Regions from separate parts of the Homo sapiens genome. Here region 1 is linked to region 2. The links are contacts of gene promoters, found by promoter capture Hi-C in blood cells and fetal thymus (Javierre and others, 2016). All regions are on one chromosome and are shown on one strand. The core of a region is centred on a gene start or on the middle of the fragment in contact, and the rest is flanking DNA. Distances in the headings are between cores, read along the strand shown.

What was found. The method cuts DNA at HindIII sites, captures the fragments that hold promoters and counts their contacts. A CHiCAGO score of 5 or more calls a contact.
Region 1: a contact is called between a fragment that was not itself captured here and the fragment with the promoter of LPIN2 in region 2, in 9 of 17 cell types (naive CD8 T cells, naive CD4 T cells, total CD4 T cells and 6 more). The highest score is 16.3, in naive CD8 T cells.

Annotation. Positions count from the first base shown.
Region 1 is chr18:3,108,585-3,115,460 of GRCh38, forward strand. MYOM1 (myomesin 1) reads right to left here. Exons shown (of 38, transcript NM_003803.4): 22 at 3,714-3,828. Among named protein-coding and RNA genes, the nearest start is that of LPIN2, 99 kb to the left of the region's middle. The HindIII fragment of the contact is 1,849 bases long and covers 1,603-3,451 here.
Region 2 is chr18:3,009,394-3,016,438 of GRCh38, forward strand. LPIN2 (lipin 2) reads right to left here and starts at 3,751. Exons shown (of 20, transcript NM_001375808.2): 1 at 3,694-3,751. RefSeq lists a silencer at 3,192-4,141. The HindIII fragment of the contact is 8,581 bases long and covers 1-6,238 here.

The DNA.
Region 1 (6,876 bases), core at 1,277-3,776, 98 kb after region 2:
CCAGGCTGGAGTGCAGTGGCGTGATCTCAGCTCACTGCAACCTCCACCTCCTGGGTCCAAGCAATTCTGCCTCAGTCTCCCAAGTAGCTGGGATTACAGGTGCGGACCACCACACCCAGCTAATTTTTGTATTTTCAGTAGAAACAGGGTTTCACCATGTTGGCCAGGCTGATCTCGAACTCCTGACCTTGTGATCCGCCTGTCTTGGCCTCCCAAAGTGCTGGGATAATAGGCGTGAGGCACCGTGTCCGGCCAATGACAGCATTTCAGAATTTCTAACATGCCCCAGGCTAACCCACCAGGTAGTGCCTTGTGGAGATTAACTTGGTACAATATCACAGAAAAAGCCTGACAGAAAAGTCTACCTATAACATCCTCCTCAAATTTTCCTTTTTCTTTTTCCTTTTTTTTTTTGAGATGGAGTCTTGCTCTGTTGCCCAGGCTGGAGTGCAGTGATGTGATCTTGGCTCACTGTGACCTCTGCCTCCCAGGTTCAAGTGATTCTCCTGCCTTATCCTCCTGAGAAGCTGGGATTACAGATGCCCGCCACACGCCCAGCTAATTTTTTTTGTATTTTTAGTAGAGATGGGGTTTCACCATGTTGGCCAGGCTAGTCTCGAACCCCTGACCTCAGGTAATCCGCCCGCCTTGGCCTCCCAAAGTGCTGGGATTACAGGCGTGAATCACCGTACCTAGCCAAATTTTCTCTTTAGAATATCCCACAACTTAGCTGAGGTTTTCCAGAGCTGAGCTCCTATCAATTAATTATGGTTGAACTCTGAGAAATGCCTAAAGAGGCATATTCTCTCAAGTTGATTGAGGGATGTGGTTCTGATAATTAATGGGCAGGAAGCAAGTTTGATGTTCTGCTATCAAAGTAAAGTGGTCTTTGTGGTATTCTTATCCAGATGAGAGGCCATCCCACTTTCCCACAAAGTTGGGCTGGAAAAGTGGACCAAAATTTGGCATAACTTAGATTTTCTCAGAAACAACCTCTTAACCTGCTCATGAATGTGAAGAACTTAACTAAGATCTCAGGAGGTTTATGTATAGAACATGAGAGAGTTGTTGTCGTTGTTGCCTAAAAAGGATTTAAGAAGAGTTGTCACTAGTCAACTCCTCAACCTAAGCGAATCCTTAATACAGACACAGAGATAACTGATTTTAACAGATCTCATTTTACATTACTATTATTATTATTTTTTCTTTCCTATTCTTTTCTAATAGAGACAGGTCCCACTATGTTGCTCAGGGTGGTCTCCAACTCCTGGGCTCAAGTGATCCTCCTATCTGGACTCCCAAAGTGTTGGGATTACAGGGCCAAGACAGCATTCCAATGATCCCTCCAAGGCTTGCCCAGAACTCCTGGTATCCTAATGGGTTCAAGTGTGGCTCAGGACTAAAATGAACTATTTGGAAATTAACTCATTTCATCCCACTTTTCTTTCTCTTCCCCACAAAAAATGATAATAAAGGATAAAATTTAAAAGCTTAAATAAAATCACAGTAAACTGTTCACGTTCCTATACATTTTGTAATCTGATATGATAATTCTTTCTCATATAAAGTGTTTTACATGAGCATGAATATATCACTTTTATAAGCTTTAATTATTTGTTCTCCATGCTGTGGGTGTGCGTGGGGGTGTGCGTGTGTGTGTGGTGATGTTTAAAAAACTGAAGCATGGGACAGAATAGAAGCAGAGGAAAGTGAGTTAATGTAATGGGTCACGTGTAGTACTGAGCTGCCCTGGGTTTCAGACGAGGACTGGCGGCTGACCATTCAGCCTCATGCCCACCTTGGAGCCTCCACCAGACATTTCTTCCCCAGCTCACCCATCATAACCAGGGCAGGCAGTACAAGACGACTGGGGTGAAGTGCACACACTGAGGCTTCAAGACAGTGTCACACTCACTGGCAAACATGCTAGTCATTCATTATTTTTTCATTTAATAAATTAGCTATTATATACCTGGTACTATGTTAGACTCTCAGCACATGTACAGAAAAGACACAGTTCCTATTTTGAGGAGCTATGGTCTAAAGTACAGTTCACAAGCCTGTTTTCACACTGGAATTACCCAAATTGCTAAGTAAACAAACAAACAGCAATAAGCCTATGTTCAGGTACCCAGCCTAAGAGATTCTTTTTTTTCTTTTTTTTTTTTTTTAGAATATCTGATCTTCTGTCATCATCCCATCAGCCCTAAAGATCCTGATTTAATTGGTCTGGAGTTGAGTCCAGATAGCAGTATTTTCAAAACAGTCCTCGTATGATTCTAATGTACAGGCAAGATTGAAAACTACGGTTCTAGCAGATGAAAGAGATCAGTTAGCAAGCAAATACAAGTGCAGTTTTCTTTTTTAAATTTTCTTTCTTTTTTTGGGATGGAGTCTCTCACTGTCGCCTGGGATGGAGTGCAATGGCACAATCTCAGCTCACTGCAACCTCTGCCTCCTGGGTTCACGCGATTTTCCTGCCTCAGCCTCCCGAGCAGCTAGGATTACAGGCACTCACCACCACATCCAGCTAATTTAAAAATTTGGTAGAGGTGGGGTTCTGCCAAGTTGCCCAGGCTGCTCTCGAATTCCTAGGTTCCTCCAGCCTCAGCTGCCCAAAGTGTTGGGATTACAGACATGAGCCACAGTGCCTGGCCTCCGGTGCTTTCCTTTATGTAACTTTAATGAACTGAAATATATGATAACGTTGAAAAATAATACAGGTTAAATGATAAAAGAAATTATTATGTAATGATCTGAAACTCGTTGGACAATGAACACAGTAAACTCTGTTCTCATAAGAAACGGCAAGTCTGTCTTCTCTAGTAATCACGGCATCTTTGAAACTGGGAAATGAGGGCTGCCTCGAATCTATAAACCATTCAGTTGGGACCACTGTTAGTTTAGCCCAGGGGTCAGCAAACTATGGCCTGTGGGCTAAATCTGGCCCATTACCTCTTTTTGCAAGGGCTGCAAGCTAAGAATGGTTTTTATATTTTTAAATAGTTGAAAAAATTGAAAGAAGATTACTATTTCAAAACACAGGAAAATTATACAAGATTGAAATTTTATAATGCATATAACGCATCACATTATATAATACATATAATGTGCATGATAAAGTTTTATTAGAACACAGCCATGCTCATTAGTTTATGTATCCTCAATGGCTTCTTTTGTGTCATGGCAGAGTTAAGAAGTTGTGACAGAGACCACAGGGCTGTTGAGTGATAAATATTATCTGGCCCTCCACAGAAAAAGTTTGCTGACCTCTGGTTTAAACATAATAGCTACAATTACATAAATCCTACTTTCGTTTAAGGATTGTGCCCACTAGCTGGGCTGTTCTAGCTTCCCCTATGATTGGGAAAATATTCTTATGAGACTTAATGGCCAGGGTGTAATAGGAATAACATTCCAGGAATGAATGCTTGGAACAGTTGGTCCGGGAAGCTTAACTTGATCAAGAACTTCCGGGTTTTTAGGTATGCATCAGAACAGCCCCTAGACCACGTCAAACCTGGCTCAACCCTGTCCTGAGGTGCCTGTGATGGGACCAATGACTGTCATGTTCTAAGATCATTACTTATCAATTATATTCAGATAGCACACATTGATTGTTTTGAAAATTAGAGGAAAGCACAGAAAGGCCGAACCTTAGTTCAGTATCTTACACAGATAGGATTAGTTTTAATGAAAAGGTGAAAGCCCACCTGGACGGGTCTCTGCCACAACAGGGCCAGCAAGGTCAGATGGCTTCCCAACTCCCGCCTGGTTTATGGCTCGAACACGGAACACGTAGCTGACGCCCTCCTTGAGGCCTCGAACCTGGTAGAAGCAGGTGTAGAAGCAATGGGTGTTTGATGAAGCAGTGGCTGTTTTATGTCATTTAAACAGACGGGGCTCTTCCTCTGTAGTAATGATTTAGTGACCTAGCACCAGGGATACAAGACTTGTGGTCTAGATTTGATTCTGTCAAACACTACGCAGGTGACTTTAGCTGTAGATGGTCTTCTCTCTAGACCATCTGTAGATAGAGAGGAGTTTCCAATATCCATTCTCACTTTGATGTTTCTCCTTTTTAGTTAATTTAGTGGCCACCAACATCAGAAACAGAGACTAGTGTACGTAGGTGTCACATGCGTTAGCCACTGTATTCTTTGGTCAAAAGGACAAAATACAAAGTGCTCATTATAGCATATATGTCGCTTTTCCCCCCAATCCTTTTGAGACATTCCATGAATAATTTCAGATGGAATTCTTGGCAAAAGAGGAGAATTAAAAGCATGAATCATGAACACTTTCCATTTGTTTAAAAGCATGTTAAACTACTAAAACCAAAACAAACAATAATTGTTCCTGTAAATTTAATATAGCTATTTCTTACTAAATAGACATGAAATTAACACAATTGTGAGTTTGAATAATTTGTGAATAACCAAAGTGTATTAAAATTCTAAATCCTCAAGTTTTTAATGATCAAGATGTGTGCTGAGAATCCACTACATATGTGCCACTAAACTAGAATTACTAAGAGCTGTAAAAAAAAAGCATTTATAATTTATTTTTGTATGACAGTCCCACTTCATGTATATATACACACACATACATATATACACACATGTATATATATATACACACATGTATATATATATACACACACATCTATGTGTGTATATGTGTATGTATATATATGTGTGTATGTGTTTGTGTCTATATATATATATATATATATATATATATATATATATGTATGTATTTCTGAGACAGAGTTTCACTCTGTTGCTCAGGCGGAGTACAGTGGCACAATCTCAGCTCACTGTAGCCTGGACCTCCTGGGATCAAGCAATCCTCCTGCCTCAGCCTCTTGAATAGTTGGGACCACAGACATGTGCCAGCACACCAGGCTACCTAAAAACAATTTTTTTTATAGATACGGGATTTCTCCATGTTGCCCAGGCTGGTCTCAAACTCCTGGGCTCAAGCAATTTTCCCACCTCAGCCTCCCACAGTGTTGGGATTACAGGAGTGAGCCACCATGCCTGGTTTCCTACTTAATTTTTTGTAACTTTCTTTGGGTTTTGAATAATCTCATTACTATTACCAATACTGTTAATGTTTTATCAACATTTTTATTTTAAAAACATGTGACTTTTAAAAGCTATGTTATAAGAAGGAATTTATTACACAGAGGGCATAATTTTTCCCCAAGATGTGATAGAGACCAATATCCAAAATGTGATTTAAATCAAACAATGTTGGAATAAAGTTATTCAATTATGTGAAGTGTTTGTGACCATGTATTTAAATGAGGTACGTATTAAATTGTTAGGTTTTTAATCTAACTAATTGTATTTGTTTACAGCAGAATGTCACTATTTATGTAGTAATAGCCCTCACTGGCACTAACGGATTTTTGAAATGGATTTTATTCTGTAAATGAACTTTAACTTAGTTATAGGTTAAATGTATAGAGCCTGACATATTTAAATTCTATGTTTAGAAATAATGCCAGGAAACTGTGGATTTCCAGAAGAACACAGAAACATTTCCGTGTAATAAAAATAGAGTAATCGCCAGGTACCTGACACATCTGCACCTGCCACCTAGGTGATGATGTATGGCTGTGAGTCAGATTTCTGCAACATGTACAGGAAGTCTGTTCATATTCCAGTGTCTGGTCCCTGGGGTGACAGGGGCACTCTCTGCTCTTCCATCACCACAGGGGCAATGACCACTGGCCTCAACAGTACCACAAATACGTAATCGAGATCATCGATGCAGATCTATTTTCCCTTTTTTTTTTTTTTCGAGACAGAGTCTCGTTCTGTTGCCCGGGCTGGAGTGCAGTGGTGCAATCACAGCTCACTGCAGCTTCCGCCTCCCTGGTTCAAGCAATCCTCCCATCTCAGCCTCCTGAGTAGCTGGGAATACAGGCACATGCCACCATGGTCAGCTAATTTTTTTTTTTTTTTTTTTTTTTTTAGAGACAGGGTTTTGCCATGTTTCCCATGGTCTTGAACTCCTGGGCTCAAGTGATTTGCCTGCCTTGGCCTCCCAAAGCCCTGGGATTATAGGCATGAGTCACCGTGCCTGGCCTACTTTCTTCTTTGTGCTTCTTATGTTTGAATTTTTCATTTAAATTGTTAGTTTTATAATCAGAAAAATAAAAAAAGATTATTTTCACTTTATAAAAACTGTTGATAAAATGTAAGAACTCTCCTTACGGAAGTTCACTTCCAGGTTTGTTAGGTATACTTAACCTCAGTCTCTCTTTCTCTCTCTGTCTCTCTGTTAAAATTCCCGTTATTCTTTTTCTTTTTAAAAATGAGTGACATTAACCATTCTTTCACACATTTAAACTCTACTTTTTTTTTTCTTTTTGTTTGCTTCTTCACCTTTGTTTCGCTTCACCCTAGTCAGTTCAAACCTCAGGCCCTTGGCATCCTCTACAGTGGCAGACTGAAGACTTGGAAATCTTCATCCCAGCCATATACACCCACCACCATCATCTAGGATGTTCCTGACCTTTATTTTACACTGTACTTTGGGGGTTTCTCGGAATCCAGGGACCTCTGGACTCATCTTGACAGCAAACAACATCATAGGCTTCAGTCCTTCCTTGAACTTTTCTCTTCCTCATGAAAAGATGACCTGTCTTATTTCTTCAGAGTTTTGCAAGAAGCTGGAGAGCTGATTGGCATATGCTAAGTTGAGTTAATGGCAAGTTGGGTATAATGGTTTATGGGCTGTATCTCCTGGAGGATATATTTACATAGTTTAGAGTGGCTGGAAATACCCTAACCCTGGAGAGTGGCTGATAGATGGAAGGGACTTAGTTCATGAGGCAGGTCAGGGAGAGATCTTTTTGGCCAG
Region 2 (7,045 bases), core at 2,501-5,000:
CTAGTAAAATTCTAAATTCAAAGATTATAAAAATAAGTACCATTTTTTGTTTGTTTGTTTTTTGAGACAGAGTCTCGCTCTGTCACCCAGGCTGGAGTGCAGTGACACAATCTCGGCTCACTGCAACTTCTGCCTCCCAGGTTCAAATGATTCTCCTGCCTCAGCCTCCAGAGTAGCTGGGTCTACAGGCATGCATAACCACACCTGGCTAATTCTTTTGTATTTTTAGTAGAGACAGGGTTTCACCACGTTGGCCAGGCTGGTCTCGAATTCCTGACCTCAGGTGATCCGCCCGCCTCGGCCTCCCAAAGTGCTGGGATTACAGGCGTGAACCACCGCACCCAGCCTTCTTCCTCATTTCTTGTTAACAATTTTAACATAAACTGACAAACCTGATCACCGAAATACAACATTCAAAGGCTTTAGCAGAAAAAGACTGAATTGCAGTCAGTGAATCAAATTAGTAAAAATGTTTACTTTATCATCATTTTAATCCTGAAAGTGACATTAAGAGTTTTATCTTGTATTAAAACACAGTTTACCTCCCAACAGATTTTTTTTTCTTCTCCTTCCTTTCTGACTGAGAAGTTGAGCAGAGACAGATGCCCAACCCCAGCTTCCACCAGCTTCCTGCTGAAAATCAAGAGCAAGGCAGCCCACCAAGTGGCCCCGGCAGGATTCTGGCCATTCCCCACTACACATGGGTTGCCACTGACTGCTTCATTTGGACCCCAGGGTGAGCAACTCCCTCACGCTTGTCTTGAAACACACATGTAATAAGCGTTTAGTGTTAGTAATAGTGTGTTACTAAAATGAAGATTCAAGCTGACAGCAGGGGAGGTGGATTCCAAAAATCACAGTTAATTACCAAAGCCGCTAAGCCAAGTTATTCAAATGTCTTATTACCAAGGTATAGCCATAAAACTTACTGCTCCAGGCTATAATACCTTCAAACTCTTCAAGTTTTAAAGACACATTATACATAGGATTCTGCCAACTGGAGGCTATCTACCAACTTGTGAGTTGTTTCATCATGAAGGAGGCAAATGGTAGGTCACGAGACTCTGGGTCTCATTGAGAAGTATAAAAACTTACCAAGCAGTGAAGGGTATTGGAGAGAGAAAAACAGGATTTTAAAATGAAGATTCCAAACCACTGCCTACCAATCTGGCACGGCAAGTCGGGCAAATACACACTCAACGACAGTCACTGGGGTCGGAGTAAAAAGAAATGGATTTAAATTAAAGATGGAAAGACTTAAATCAGACTTAAAGAAAAGCCTCTTGATGTAAATTGCTAAGCACCTACGGGAGATAACCAAATCTACCTGTTACCACTAATCTATCAACTAACAAGACAAAGCCTCCAGCTAGGCGTTACTGTGCTGATATATATTAGGAAATAAGTACCCAAGGCATAGAAAAATCGCTGACACAGAGAACCAAGCCATAATGTAATATTAATAAAAGTAAACATTTGACCCTTTACCACCTCTAACACGTGGCACCACCAGGAATATTCATCCATGCCTCACCATTCAGGGAAGGTAAGTGAGCTCACTCAGGAAGTGCCACCGTCTTCCAGGTCACTGGTAAGGACAAACTGCCTGCTGCGTCTACCTTCATTCAACAGACCTCGACCGAATCGCATCCCAAAGCCGGCTATGTGCTTGGAACTTACTGAGCAGCTATGGAGTTTGGCTTTCAGGAACTCTGGGTCCAGTCCTTAAAACCAAAAGTGCAATACAGGGCGATGAGAACTTCTATTGCTACATTCTCCTAGCAATAAAGAAGACAAAGCCCCAGCTGACTCTATTATTTGCTTCTTAACAGTGCTTTACTATAGTATTAAAGGGTTTTCAAACACTTCATTTCCAGCTTCTCTTAAGCATAATGCGTGCCTATTGACTCTCGACTGTGCCATCAAACGTTAAAACAGAACCTGTCGTTTCATTTCTAGCTTTCTATGGCTACCTCTATCAAAAGTTGGGCATGGAGATACCTTAAGTCTGGCTGGGGCGGTTGCTCACGCCTGTAATCCCAGCTCTTTGGGAGGCCGAGGGGGGCGGATCACCTGAGGTCGGCAGTTCGAGACCAGCCTGGCCAACATGGTGAAACCCCCGGTCTCTAATAAAAATACAAAAATTAGCTGAGTGTGGTGGCTCATGCCTGTAATCCCAGCTACTCGGGAGGCTGGGGCACAAGAATCGCTTTAACAGAGGAGGCAGAGATTGCAGTGATCGGAGATCGCGCAACTACACTCCAGCCTGGGCGACAGAGTGAGACTCTGTCTCGAAATAAAAGAGATACTTCAGTCTGACATACCACAATCAACTACAATGTAATTGGAGGGAAGAGCCGATGTTGGACGGCTATCACACGTGGCTTCACACTGTTCTTTTTCTTCTCTGGCTGGGTACGGCCTGAGGATGACTGCCCTCCAACAACTGAGGATGCTGCAGGAGGACCAGCCCAGCACCTGTCTCCATCCCCTGCACTGTGTGGCCGGCTCTGCCGCTTCTCCCCCGCTTCAGCATCACCTGCCACTTCTTCTCAATCTGAAGCCACTAAGAACGATCAACACCAGACCGTTAAAACATAAACCAGTATGGGCCACTAAATAATTCGTAAATATTTCAAAATGTATTTCAAAACCGACTTTGTATTGTCAAAACATTATAATCTAGCCAGGCCAAGTTTTAATAAACAGTAACACCCATCATCACTACTGGGTAAAGAACTTCATTCAACAGGACCTACCTTGACACCAAGTCTAGAGCCTCGTTTTCAATTAAAAAAAAAATGGGTAAGCCCCAAATGTGCATTAAAAATTAGTTTGGCCATTTACTAAGTAGTCCTTCAAAGCATTTCCAAGTATTCAGAGTTCCAGTACTTTTCGGAAAGGAAGGGTGATCTTTCTGGTACTGGTTTGCATAATTATGCCTAAAAAATGTCATCTTGAATTTTCAATGAAAAGAGTCTTAAAATGTTCAGGCGAGTGGAGAAAATGGTGATCCGCTGGCGTTAGAAGTGGACAGAGAGGCTCTCAGTACAAACTGTATCTGAACGTGTTCCTCACAAATTAAGATCTGCACCGGGGGCTGGGGGGCTTTGAGAAAACTAACCACATTTGAATCCGGTCCACACAGCTTGAAGGCGGAGGTACGGGGCAAAGCGCGGCGGGGAAGAAACACCAGCAACTCGGCGGCCCCCGCCTCGCCGCAGATCACGTGCCCGGCGCCCCCTCCCGCAGGGCCGGGGGCGGGATGGAGACGCGGCCTCCCGCGCGCCTTCCGCACTCCCCTCCGCGCCCCAAACCCAGGGGTAGGGGTGGTCTCGGGTAACCATCCCCAGGGCGGCGGCGAGGGAACTGCGCGGGTTCAGAGTCCTCAGCAGCCACCACTGACGCCCCGACGCCCCCGGCTCCCCGCGCACCCCGCCGGTCCGTCCTGCGGCGGCGGCGGTAGGGGCCGCGTCTACGTGGCGCGGTCGCGGCGAGGCGGGGACTGGGACGCGAGGACCGGGAAGCGGGGACCGCGGCGCGAGGAGGGGCGGCTCAACCCGCGCCGCCCCGGAGGGTCCCGGCCTCCGGCAGGACAGCCCCGGGCCCGCGCCAAGGGAAGCCCCCAGGCGCAGACACTCACCGCCAGCCCCGGAGGGACGCCTGCGAGGAGCCCGGCCCGCGCCCACTTACCCACAGGGGCTCCGCTCCCGGCCAGCGGGCGGCTGAGGGCAGGCGGCGGCTGGACTGCGACGGCTAGGACCCGCCGGGGAGGGAAGCCGAGGGGGCGGGGCCGGTCGGGGGCGCGCGCGGGGTCGGAGCGCCCGCAGCCGCCGCTGCCTTGGAAGCCGCCTGGGCCGCAGCTGAGTCGGGCGGCCCTCATGAATGGGACGCCGCGGCTGCGGCGGCCGAGCCGGCAGCTGGCGGGCGGGCAGCGCGCAGGCCCCGCCCCAGCCACGTGACGCGCGCTCCCGGCCGCGCGCCGCGCCCCCGCCGCCGAGCGCCAGGCGTGCGGCTTCTCACCGCTCCCAGTCCCTGGGCTGCGCGCCCGGGCCCCTGGCCAAGTGAGGGCGGGGCCTCGATTTTCTAGTGCCTCGGGCGACAGGAGCCTTACTTTGTTTTAAAAAAAAAAAGTTTCTTCCGGTCCCCATGGCAACCCTGCGGCAGGTCACGTGGGACTGAGAGCCCAATTGCCAAAAAGGAATGTTAAAGTGCAAAAAAAGTCTAGGGAATGAATGTTTTATAATCCCCTTTTGATCACTAGTAGCACATCTCCTTTGCTTACTTACATCTCCACCGAAAAAAAAAAAATCCTATTACACAACTCATTTTTAAAAATATGCCGGGGTTCTGTTGTTTTTTGTTTATTCTTTTTATCGCTCTGTTACCCCGGCTGGTCTCCAACTCCTGGGCTCAAGCATCCCCGCACCTCGGCCTCCCAAAGTACTGGAATTACAGGCATGAGCCACCGTCCCCAGCATTAAAATATACTTTTTAAGAAATGGGTGGCTCACGCCTGTAATCCTAGCACTTTGGAAGGCCGAGGCAGGCGGATCACTTGAGGTCAGGAGTTCAAGACCAGCCTGGCCAACATGGTGAAACCCCCGTCTCTACTAAAAATACAAAAAACCAGCCGGGCGTGGTGGCGCGTGCCTGTAATCCCAGCTTCTCAGGAGGCTGAGGCAGGAGAATCAGTTGAACCCGGGAGGCGGAGATTGCAGTGAGCCGAGATGGCGCTATTGCACTCCAGCCTGGCGACAGAGAGACTCCGTCTCAGAAAGAAAAGAAATGGGGCCCGGCGCGGTGGCTCACGCCGGTAATCCCAGCACTTTGGGAGGCCAAGGCGGGTCGATCGCCTGAGGTCAGGAGTTGGAGACTAGCCTGGCCAACGTGGCAAAACCCCGCCTCTACTAAAAATACAAAAATTAGCCGGGCATGTTGGCTGCAATCCCAGCTACTTAGGAGGCAGAGGCGGTAGAATCACTTGAACCCGGGGGGCGGAGGTTGCAGTGAGCAGAGATTGCGCCACTTCACTCCAGCCTGGGAGCGAAACTCTGTCTCAAAAAAAAAAAAAACAAAAAAAACTGGATTGCTGGTGCTATATACTATTGGTGCACACTGGTTTTTAATTTGCAGCCTATTCTATTACTATTCTATGATTGAAAGTAATGAACAGAAGCCTATGTTACTTCTATATAAATGGCAGTTAATTTATGAGGTGCATCTTGTGTGTGATCATTTATACAGTTCTAAGGGTACTGAAATAGGCATTTGCATACACAAAGCTGCTCCTTGAAGGATCCAGCTGCAGCCCAGTTTCTTCCCACCAGTGCCTGGTGTAGCTGGGCAGTGCTTGGATTCAGGGAGCAGGCGACCACTTCTTCACTGAAGTTCCTTCTGCTTTTCTGTGAAACTCGATCAAGTTTTGCCCCATCTGTAATCAAGGCCCTACAGAAACATAGGTAGTTTCACTGGCACAAGACCACTAGGAATTTTCCTCATTTCACTGCTTCTCACTTGGCTTCACAAGTAAAATAAAAATTGAAGAGGACTAAAATATCCCCCTCCGTATTCAATGGATTTTATAAATATGGAGAAGAAAAATTAAAGCTAGAGAAAGAATTTAATCCTCAGTTTCTACGTCAGTAAAATAAAGATAGTAGTGTCTTTCTTACAGAATTGTTTTGTGGATTCCCCGTGATAACCTATAAAGTGCCTACGTTAGTGTCTGCAACCTGGAACAGGCTGTTAGCGTTTATTTTCTTTCCTTTCTTCCATTTCTCCCACTTAGACTTTTCCTGTTTCTCTCAGGCTATTTTCTCTATCTCTGCCTTGGGAGGGAAATATTCTGCCAAGCTCCCTTCCTTCCTTTCATCATTCAGGAAGCCCTAGAGCTCCCCTCCCTTCCTCCAAACAACCTTGCGTTTGAGACCTCACTCAGAACGATTGGTTCATATTGCTAATATTTTCCTCATTTTCCCGTGTCCACCAGCTTACACTACCACTTAAGTGGTGACTCATTAAATGTTTGTTGCATGATAAATCCCTTCACCTCCTGCCCTAGGAAGTGTGGAGGGGCCACCCCAGGTCCACCTACTCCACTGGAGTGTCAGAGGAAGAAAGCGCTTCCTTCAACTGGCCTCTGACCCACCACCTTCCAGCTCCAAGGTGAGGAACCTCACTCCACTAATTGTCCCCTCTTCCTCAATTCTGGCTTCATTCCTGCACTTGAAAAAGAAGCTTTTGTGGCCCCTCCGTTCCCCCTCAGGCTGTCGACTTATCACACAGCTTCTCTTCCCACCCAAGCTACCTGAAAGAGTTTCAGGTTTTCTCCCATCTTCACAGGGTTGCTCCTCCTCTAACCCTGAAACTGCTCAGGCTAAAGTCACTATGACCTTCTGGTTGCCGAAGAAAACAGACCCCTTTCCTGTCCCATGCCTCATGATCTCTGCAGGGCAAGATGCTGTTGATCATTATTTCCTTCTTGAAACTCTCTCCTCCCCTCATTAGTGGGAACTCCTCTGAATTCTACATGCCTGTGCTCAGTGGCTTTCAACGTCTCAACCAGCAAGGTCCACAGTGATGTCAGATTCAAACCCATTATTTGTGCTTCTTCAAACCTGCTCCACCTGAATCTCCTATCCTGGCTGATGGCGCTGTCATCTGTTTAGACATACTTGCCAGAAACCTAGGAGGGAGTCTCATTTCCCTCTACTCCCATGCTGTTTCCATCACTCCTCCTCATTATTCCTCCTCATGATTCCTACTCTTGGTCCTCTGTCGCACCACTCACCCCTGCTTGTGATTAGGCCCTCGCCATTTCTCTTGTGGTCCATTGTAGGAATATGCCAGCTGGTCTCCCTACCCTCTAGTCCTGCCCAATTCTAAGCATCCTCTACTCTGAATTGCAGACCTGGCCATGGCACAGGTGGTTGGCAACCCATTGTCTTGACGAAGCAAGCCAAGTTCCCTAGCGTGGCATCCAGTGTGCTCCTTTTCTCTCTAATTTTCTCTCCTGCTCCTTCTAGTCTGTATGCTTCAGCCA